Linked DNA regions of Homo sapiens: all the other regions are linked to region 1. The links are contacts of gene promoters, found by promoter capture Hi-C in blood cells and fetal thymus (Javierre and others, 2016). All regions are on one chromosome and are shown on one strand. Each heading gives the region's core, a stretch centred on a gene start or on the middle of the fragment in contact. The rest is flanking DNA. Distances are from core to core; before and after follow the strand shown.

Evidence for each region. The method cuts DNA at HindIII sites, captures the fragments that hold promoters and counts their contacts. A CHiCAGO score of 5 or more calls a contact.
Region 2: a contact is called between the fragment with the promoter of PARD6B here and the fragment with the promoter of STAU1 in region 1, in 3 of 17 cell types (neutrophils, naive CD8 T cells and non-activated CD4 T cells). The highest score is 7.4, in neutrophils.
Region 3: a fragment that was not itself captured here is called in contact with the fragment with the promoter of STAU1 in region 1 in 1 of 17 cell types (fetal thymus); the score reaches 5.8 in fetal thymus.

Annotation. Positions count from the first base shown.
Region 1 is chr20:49,186,925-49,189,720 of GRCh38, reverse strand. STAU1 (staufen double-stranded RNA binding protein 1) reads left to right here and starts at 1,387. Exons shown (of 14, transcript NM_017453.4): 1 at 1,387-1,605. RefSeq lists silencers at 1,114-1,783, 2,014-2,173 and an enhancer at 2,574-2,643. The HindIII fragment of the contact is 4,529 bases long and covers 1-2,561 here.
Region 2 is chr20:50,730,196-50,732,991 of GRCh38, reverse strand. PARD6B (par-6 family cell polarity regulator beta) reads right to left here and starts at 1,412. Exons shown (of 3, transcript NM_032521.3): 1 at 1,140-1,412. The coding sequence starts at 1,205. RefSeq lists silencers at 970-1,759, 1,860-2,069 and an enhancer at 2,260-2,309. The HindIII fragment of the contact is 2,238 bases long and covers 1-2,227 here.
Region 3 is chr20:50,510,934-50,513,729 of GRCh38, reverse strand. The region is part of intron 1 of PTPN1 (protein tyrosine phosphatase non-receptor type 1); the gene reads right to left. Among named protein-coding and RNA genes, the nearest start is that of PTPN1, 1.9 kb to the right of the region's middle. The HindIII fragment of the contact is 681 bases long and covers 1,037-1,717 here.

The DNA of each region.
Region 1 (2,796 bases), core at 138-2,637:
CCTTCATTCATTCTCAGTTTCTTGGACCTCTCACAACGCGAGCATAATTTTCGCTGAGTGTGCAGAAGTTCAAGATTCTTTTTTTTTTTTTTTTTTTTTTTGAGACAGAGTCTCACTCTGTTGCCCAGGTTGGAGTGCAATGGCGTGATCTCGGCTCACTGCAACCTCCGTCTCCCGGGTTCAAGAGATTCTCCTGCCTCAGCCTCCCAAGTAGCTGTGATTACAGGCGCCCACCACTGCATCCGGCTAGTAGAGACGGGGTTTCACCATGTTAGTCAGGCTGGTCTCGAACTCCTGACCTCAGGTGATCCGCCCACCTCGGCCTCCCAAAGTGCCGGGATTACAGGCGTGAGCCACTGCGCCTGGCCAAGATTCTTTACTGGCCACCCTCTCTCCAACCTCCCATACAATACAGCTGCTAAAAACCACTTAGTTTATCTAGGTCTGGGTGAAATAAATAGTAATCTGGCACTTCTCGTCTTTTTTTTTTTTTTTTTTTTTTTTTTTTTTTTTTTTTTTGAGACCAGTGTCTCTTTGTCGCCAAGGCTGGAGTGCAGCGGCGCGATCTCAGCTCACTGCAATCTCCGCCTCCCGGGTTCAAGCGATTCTCCTGCCTCAGCCTCCCGAGTAGCTGTTTACCTACAGGCGCCCGCCACCACGCCCGGCTAATTTTTTGTATTTTCAGTAGAGACGGGGGTTTCACCGTGGTAGCCAGGATGGTCTCGATCTCTTGACCTAGTGATCCGCCCGCCTCGGCCTCCCAAAGTGCCGGGATTAGAGGCCTGAGCCAACGCGCCCGGGCCATTGTCTTTTATCTCACTACACATTTTTCAATTTTATTTATTGTGTATTTTACTTACACAAGAATGTAAGCTCCACGAGGGCAGGGATTTTTGTCAGTTCACCACTACATTCTTAGCTCTTGGAGCAATGCCTTGCATATGGCAAGCATTTAATGAACATTTACAGATGGAGGAAGAAACAACTGCAGGAAGGAGAGAAAGGAAGGCCAGAGGCAGGACAAGAGGAAGAAGCGACAGCAAGGAAGGAAAAAGGAAGTGGAGGAGGAAAGAAGGTAGGCTGGGTTCTCCCAGACCCGCTTCGAGTCCAGCAGGCAGCGCGAAACTCCCACCAGAACTACAACTCCCGGCAGGCCCCGGGACTCAGGACGGGCCGCTGCGGTCCAGGCGGGACAGGGCGCTCCTCCCGCTGGGCCCCCGGCGTGCCTTGCGAGCGCAGGCTCCGCCGCAGTGCCAGCCGGAACTTGTGGTTCGGACCGTGGGTGGGGGTGGGGCCGGGGCCGGGCCTGGAGGCGGGCGGGGGCCGGGGGCGGGCGCCTGCCCCTCCCCCGTCACTTCCTGCCGGGCTGCGGGCGCCTGAGCGGCTCTTCAGCGTTTGCGCCGGCGGCTGCCGCGTCTCTCTCGGCTCCCGCTTCCTTTGACCGCCTCCCCCCCCCGGCCCGGCGGCGCCCGCCTCCTCCACGGCCACTCCGCCTCTTCCCTCCCTTCGTCCCTTCTTCCTCTCCCTTTTTTCCTTCTTCCTTCCCCTCCTCGCCGCCACCGCCCAGGACCGCCGGCCGGGGGACGAGCTCGGAGCAGCAGCCAGGTGAGGCGGCCGGGCCGGGCCGGGCCTGGTGGGGCCCTCGCGGGCGCCGCCGCGGTGGGGAGGTGGGCGGCGGGTGGGGCCTAGGCCTCGGCGGGCCCGCGCACCCCTCCGCCTTCTCCCGGGCCTCTCTCTAGCCCGCGGGGCCTTCCCGGAGGAGGCGGGTCCTCTTGCGTTCCCTCGCCTCGGGGCGCCCTGAGGCCTGGCCCCGGGCGCCCCCATCCCCTCCAGCCCTCACCGGTGCCACAAACAGGTGCTGCGGCCGCCTTTCCTCGTCCCGCATGGCGCGCGCGGGGATGCCGAAGTTATTCCCGGGGCTGGGGCGCAGGCGGGGGGGGGGGGGGGTCCCTGCTTCAGGTCCCCGAGGGCTGGAGCCTCTCAGTGTCGCCGGCCCAGGTCTGTAGCTTAGTGGTTAAGAGCACGGCCCAGGTGTCCAAAACGGGTGCCGAACCCGGCTCTGCCCCGTTAGGCAAGACACTTAAAAAGTCTTTGTGTCTTGGTTGGAAAAGGGGCTGCTAATACCGTCCCTGCCTCTTAAGGTTCAGTGAAATGGGGCGTGTAAAGCGCTTATCAGAGTGCCAGACCCACAGCGTGTCCCAGTAAACCGTCTGCATAATTTATTAGCGTGATATGAAGGTATAATTTAATGGGCAGAGTGGATAGAAGTTGACCTACCTATCCGTTTGGGTTTCTTAGAGGCTGCAGTGTTCCGCGTGCCCATGTCCAGAGCCAGGGCATTGTTTTCAGTTGTTAACATCTGAAAGGGGCGTACGCTTAATTGGGACACTGTAGTTGACAGTCTGTAAACGATGGATGCTGTTTCTTTCCATCTCCGCTTAGGCAACTGCAGGATATTCACCATCTCCCGCAGGATGAGCAACCTGTCCATTTCTCCCCGCCCCGCCATCATCCAGCTTCTTCTTGTCATTCCATTTCTGGGAAAGTTGCTGGCAGAAGCTTCCCTTGAGTTGAGCAAACCTATCTAGAGCACTTGCTGTGTGTTGGGCTCTGAAGGGGGGTGTACGGAGATGGAAAAATTTGTCTGTCTTGTCTTGCTCTACACCTCGATAAGTTTTTTTTCACGGAAGCTTTGCTTATATTCACCCCTCCCTGTTGGCTGACTTTCCTTTTAAGCCCTTGCCCCGCCTCCGTGTTGCAGTATTGCTTGTGTGGAAGTTTTCTTCTGTTCCGCGA
Region 2 (2,796 bases), core at 163-2,662, 1.5 Mb before region 1:
ACTGTACCTCACTCAAATCACTCCTTGATTTTACATACTCCTTAGTAGTCTTACCATCTATGATGCTCCATTACTTTTTTTTTTTGAAATTGATATACTTTCAATTTTCTCCTTTTCTGTGTTTTGGCCTTCTCAATTCTATTTTAAATGTTCTCAGGGCCCAGCCAGTGTCCTGTTTTGTATTCTGCAATGTCTAGAAGTTATTAAAAAGGCATGAAGGCTTTGCAAAAAAACAGCTTGAGGAAGTCATAACCTTTCTAAGCCTCAGTCTTCTCAGAGAATTGGGCTAGATTATCTAAGCTCCTTTTAACTCTTCAACTCAAGAAACGCTTGCTGAAAGTGTTCCCTTGGCTGCCGATCACCTTCAAATTCCAGCTCAAAACCCCCTTTGGAAGGCATTCCCTAACTAATCCCTCCCTACAGACTACCCTGCTCACTGAGCCTTGAGATTTAGAAATTCAGTGAATACCGAAGTAATTATCAGCAGATTGGCATACCGTTGGTCAAGGGGAAAAGCACTTGATGTGAGTAGGTAGCAGGATGGAATGAAAAGAGCATCTAGAGTCAAACTGTAAAGTGCTACTCCAACGTAAGGTGATAGTACTAATTTTACAGATTAAATGCATACCAAAGTTAGTGCTAGAAAGAGCGCCAGCAGGAAGCAAAGCGAACTTTTAAAGGGCTGTTTAGTTCACTGGGCTCTCTCCTTCGCCACTCGATGCGCCCCTTAACCACAGAAAGTGGGAACAACGGGGTGGTCCAGGGCCCTTTACTCACAGCCCAGCAGGCAGGATTCTCCTACACCTTTTGAGCAGCCTCGCATTTCACTCAGTGTGCGCCATCCTTGGATATACCTTGGCCCCTACTCCCGTCCGTGAACACGGGAATGAGATTTACGGAATGAGATTAAATGCTGGACTAGGTCTTCTTCCTGCCCGGGCCAGGGGCGGACACTAGCGCCCCCTGACCCCCGCCACCCCCTCCTCGGCAAGTTTATTACCCACAGTCTCCCGACCGCACCGTCCAGACCCCGGGGCAGCTCAGCCCGTCGCCTCCCCCGGCGCTCCGAGCCTGGCCCGGCCTCTCCCAGGCCCCGGCCCCCCAGGCCCGCCGCTCCGCCCAGCCCGGGCCCCGCGCACCTTGCTCTTCACCTCCATAGTGCCCAGGCAGCCGCTGCCCGCCCCGTGCCGGTGGCTGCGGTTCATGCTGAACGCCGAGCCCCGCGACGGCCTCCTCCGGCCGGGCGGCCCCTCAGGAGCGCGGGGAGCGAGTGCGCGACTGGGGATCTCGGAAAGCGGTTGCGGCCCGGGCGCCTCCTCACAGGCACCTGCAGAGGGGGCGGCCGCAGCTCCGGCGTCCGCGCTGAGCTCCACTCCACCAGCTGCTCACACGGCGGGACCGAGGGTCGGACTGGTGGCGCGGCAGGCGGGGAAGCAGCTCCCTCCCTCCGGGCCCCGGCGGCGACGGCGACAGCGCTGGAGGAGAGGAGGGGGCGGAGCGGAGGCCACAAGCGCCGCAACCTCTCCCTCTGCCGCCTCCCCCGCGAGCCCGCGCGCGCGCACCCGAGCGGACCACAGCCGCGGCGCGTGCGCGCGCTCACCTGCAGCCCCCGAAGATGCCGCAATCCCTCGCGTTCCGCCCACACCCAATAGAAAGCGCGCACCTGCGCCCGCGGCGCCAACCAATCGATACACGCCTCGCGCGGTGCGTGGGCGGGCTGCCTCCTCAAAACCCCGCCTACCACCGCACGATTGGTCCTGCGCTACGAGGGAGGGGCGGGATCACCTGAAGCCATGGCCCTCCGCCCCGCTTCAGGCCGGAGAGCCAGAAGGCGCATGCGCGGGTGCTGGAGTTTCCGCCCCGGGAAGGCACGCGGGGAGGCCGGCCGGAAGCGCGAGCGCACCTGAAGAAGGGCTCGGCTGGGTGGGCCTTTTGCGCACGCGCGAGCGCGCGCCTGGTTGCCCGGCTCCGCCGGGGCTCGCGCCGCTTAGCGCGCGCCAGTCACACGCACGGTCCAGGGGATTGGATGCGCCGCCCGTCCGGTTGCCGAGGCGCTGCGGGGCTATTCGGTTCCAGCCGGGCCCCCTTCCCGCTTCCACTTTGGGATGCTGCAGCCCCCAACGACGCCCCTCCACCGCCCCTTATCGTTGCTTAGGCGTCCCGCTGCAACTCTTGGTTGCAAAATTCAAGTTTTCCCGCCTCTGCAGCGGTTGCTGGGGGAGAAGCTTAGGGCTCTCTTGGCTTCATTTTGTCCGAAGAGACTCTGCACGCCTTAAGTCCGTCAGGTCGAGAGGGAAGGAAAGTGGGCTGAGGCGCGGGAAGGCTCCTTGCAGGCCCAGCCTCCCTGAGGATTTCTAGTCCAGTCTTTCAGGGCTTTTTTTTTTTTTCTTTAAAAGTCTTCCTTTTCCCTCCTCCCGCCATTCCTTGGCCATTCGCTGTTTCTACAAATGACAGCCTCTAGGTTGTGTTCGTTTCCCGGAGTGACCAAGCTGTGTCCCAGAGCAACAAAACGCTGAATCCTCCTCTCTGAACGTCCCAGAGCCCGGCCTCTCTTCACACAGACCCTGTGGGTCATGGGGAGGAGAGGAGAAGACTGAAGCTTTTGGCTGGAGGAGATTCCCAGGTCCCAAGGTCTCCCTGTGGGACCCGGGAATCCAAGAGCTGTTGAAACCTGCAAGCCAGGAAGGGGGCAGGGGAATGGAGGTGGAGGGGAAGGTCCAACCTGAGATTTGGCAAGAAGAGTGGTTAGGGTACCTTCCTCCCCTCATCTCCCTGCCCACCTCGGAGGCCTCCTAA
Region 3 (2,796 bases), core at 128-2,627, 1.3 Mb before region 1:
TATTGTTACAACATGGTTTTAACCTAGTCAGGCATTAGATTGTATTTCATAATGAAAACAGCTATAAAAACAAATGTCAATTGGAAGAGTGGCCCATTTTACAAAGCCTGCCTCTAACATGAATAAATCTTGCCTTCATGTCACAAGGTATTATTGCAGTCCCCTTTATCTGAAACAATCAAATCATTCACAATGAAATATAGTGAGTGGTGTCAGAGAATCAAAGAATTTACAGACGAGAAAACAAGCAAAACACCGGACCCAACCCCTCTTAAACTACAGATGGAGGGGAGCACATGAGCTATTCTTTTCATTCACTCAACCCTCTCTCCTCTCATTCTAGCTCAGTAAAATCAATCTCTTTTCCTCATCTGGGCTCATTCTCTCCTCTTAGACAGCTAGGCCCAATCAAGCAACCGGATGATTTGAAAGTGTTTAAATGCTAGAAAACAATGTTTAAAGCCATCTATATACACTATCAAAGCTGACTTTTTATAGACCTAGATGCTTATTAGCATCTATGCTATTCATTAGCATTAAAGATTAAAAATACGGTTATGCTCACTTTATCAAACTGACCTAGCAAAGAATCTCTGCCTAAAAAGTTTGTTTTCCAAGCTGCCACATTCCTCAGCACTCAAAAGTCCTCTTCACTCTTTGTTCTTTTCCCAATAGTTTTCAAGTTTTTACATCTTTTTGTTCTAATCAGAAAATAAGTTAGAATAACTGACCTGCTTACCAAGTTGTAAGCAAAAATTACATTATTCTCTGATCACAATAGGCTAGGCAAGCTCAAAGTATGACTTTGTATAAGGCTGCCCTCATTTCAACATGCTATAAAGTATTAATTTTTTTAAACTTCCATTTTCTATCAATTGTAAACACATTCTTTGAATCCTTGAAAAATAATGGTTTTGGTAAAGCGATACACACCTTGGAAAGTTAGCCACTTTAGACTCAAGGTCATCTGAACTCTGTTTCAGAAAACGCTACAGTTGTATGACAAAGAGCTACTTTTACACTTAGGAGAAAAGCTTCTGATTTCAAGATCTTAGAAAAGAAAAATATCCATACAGTGGAGGTGAGAAAAGCTGGCCCTGACAATTCTCTAAGACCAAAAGAAACTACCTCAGGGAATGTGGCAATCCATTAAGAAGCAGTGAAAATCTCAACACCTTGACTAACTTGTGGGGTTTAATTGTGGCAGAAAAACTTAAGAACAATGAAGGAAATGAATTGAAGACTGACACACTCCATGCTAGTTGCATGCTGAATACAATTTTAACCATGCTTGGGTGACAGGTCAACCCACTCTGGCTTAAAATTGTAAGAAATAAAATTCAACTAAGAACTAAGTTACAATACGTATTTCTTGTTGTCAACTCAGTCAATTTCAGTGGAAAAGACTTCTCTCCACAATGCTTCCACTGTGATGGGGTGTATCATAATCAACTCCAACACTTCAGACCAACAATTTTCATTTAAAGACATTTTAGACTCTACTGCATTAAACTGATGCAGAAAATTTGTCTACACAGTCTCAAAGTCCCTTATGGAATTCATTCAGCTAATTCAGAGACCAGATATGGCATACAAATTTTATATACTGATCAATCATACTTATTAGTATATAGATTACAGTGGTTAGAAATATTAGTCTAGCAGAAACTAATATACACACTACAGTCCAAATAAAAAGAATCCTGTCAAATAAGCTTGATGTAAATCCACATGAAAATCAAGGCTGCCAAAAAAAAAGGCTTTTGTTAGTCAAGCATACCAAAGAACTGCTTAAACCTTTTTTCCTTTCTAAGCGGAGCTCAAAATAGATTTTAATACTACAGCTGATGGATCTCACAATTTGCCTTTTGAGCCTATAAGCTGAAAACAGAATCATCTGCTGTCTCCCTTTACACAAGTAACAAAATCTCTCTATTCTGTATATCGCTTATTTAAGATACTGTGCAAGTGTGGTTTTAGTTAATCTTAACAACCCCCGCAATGACATTTAATTGGGAGTATGTATCTTATTCAGCTGCTTGTGAAAGGAAGAGCTCTTTGTGTTTTTAACTACTTGTTTTATAGATATATGAGAAACCCTCCTTTCCTAACTTTTTAACACACAAGGAGATGACTCCTAAGACAAGGTCATCTCTGCCACGACCAAAGACTAAGCTGCTCATTGAGGAAAGATGCTATTTTAGAGAGGGTTAAAACGTTAACCTTCCTGAGTCCCTGCCTGAAAGAATAATATCATGGCCCCAATGGAGTGGGTACCGCAGGCCTCCTGGCTAGAAGGTTCTTTAGCCCCATATTCTCACGGCTTTCTGCTCCTCTTGGTTCAGCTCACAAAGCAAATGTCTCCTCCTTTGACAGGCCTTCCCTGATCCCCTTCTCTAAGACAGCCGGCCTTCTATGCAGTCACCCTGTACCCCGTTAGGAAGTCGTTCTCTTCACAGCACCTGTCACTATCTGAAATTATTTGCTTTTGTGTTTGATTGCCCTATTCGACTCTAGGCCCCACTAAGGCTAGGATCTTGCCTGTCCTGATTAGCAAACACCACCTCCAATGCCTAAGCGGTGCCTAGCACAGAATAAGCTTGCCAACTCCTATCCAATAAATGAATGAACAGAAAGGGGAAAGGGGACTGTCATCTCTGGGACTCGACGCACACTGAGACTAGGGGAAAGGAAATGTGAAGGAGGGACGGGGGGAGTAACCTTTTCCCCCAGGGAGACAAAGGAAGAGAGTCTGAGGTGGTCCACTCCAGAAAAGGAAATAGTGGGGGTGCTAAA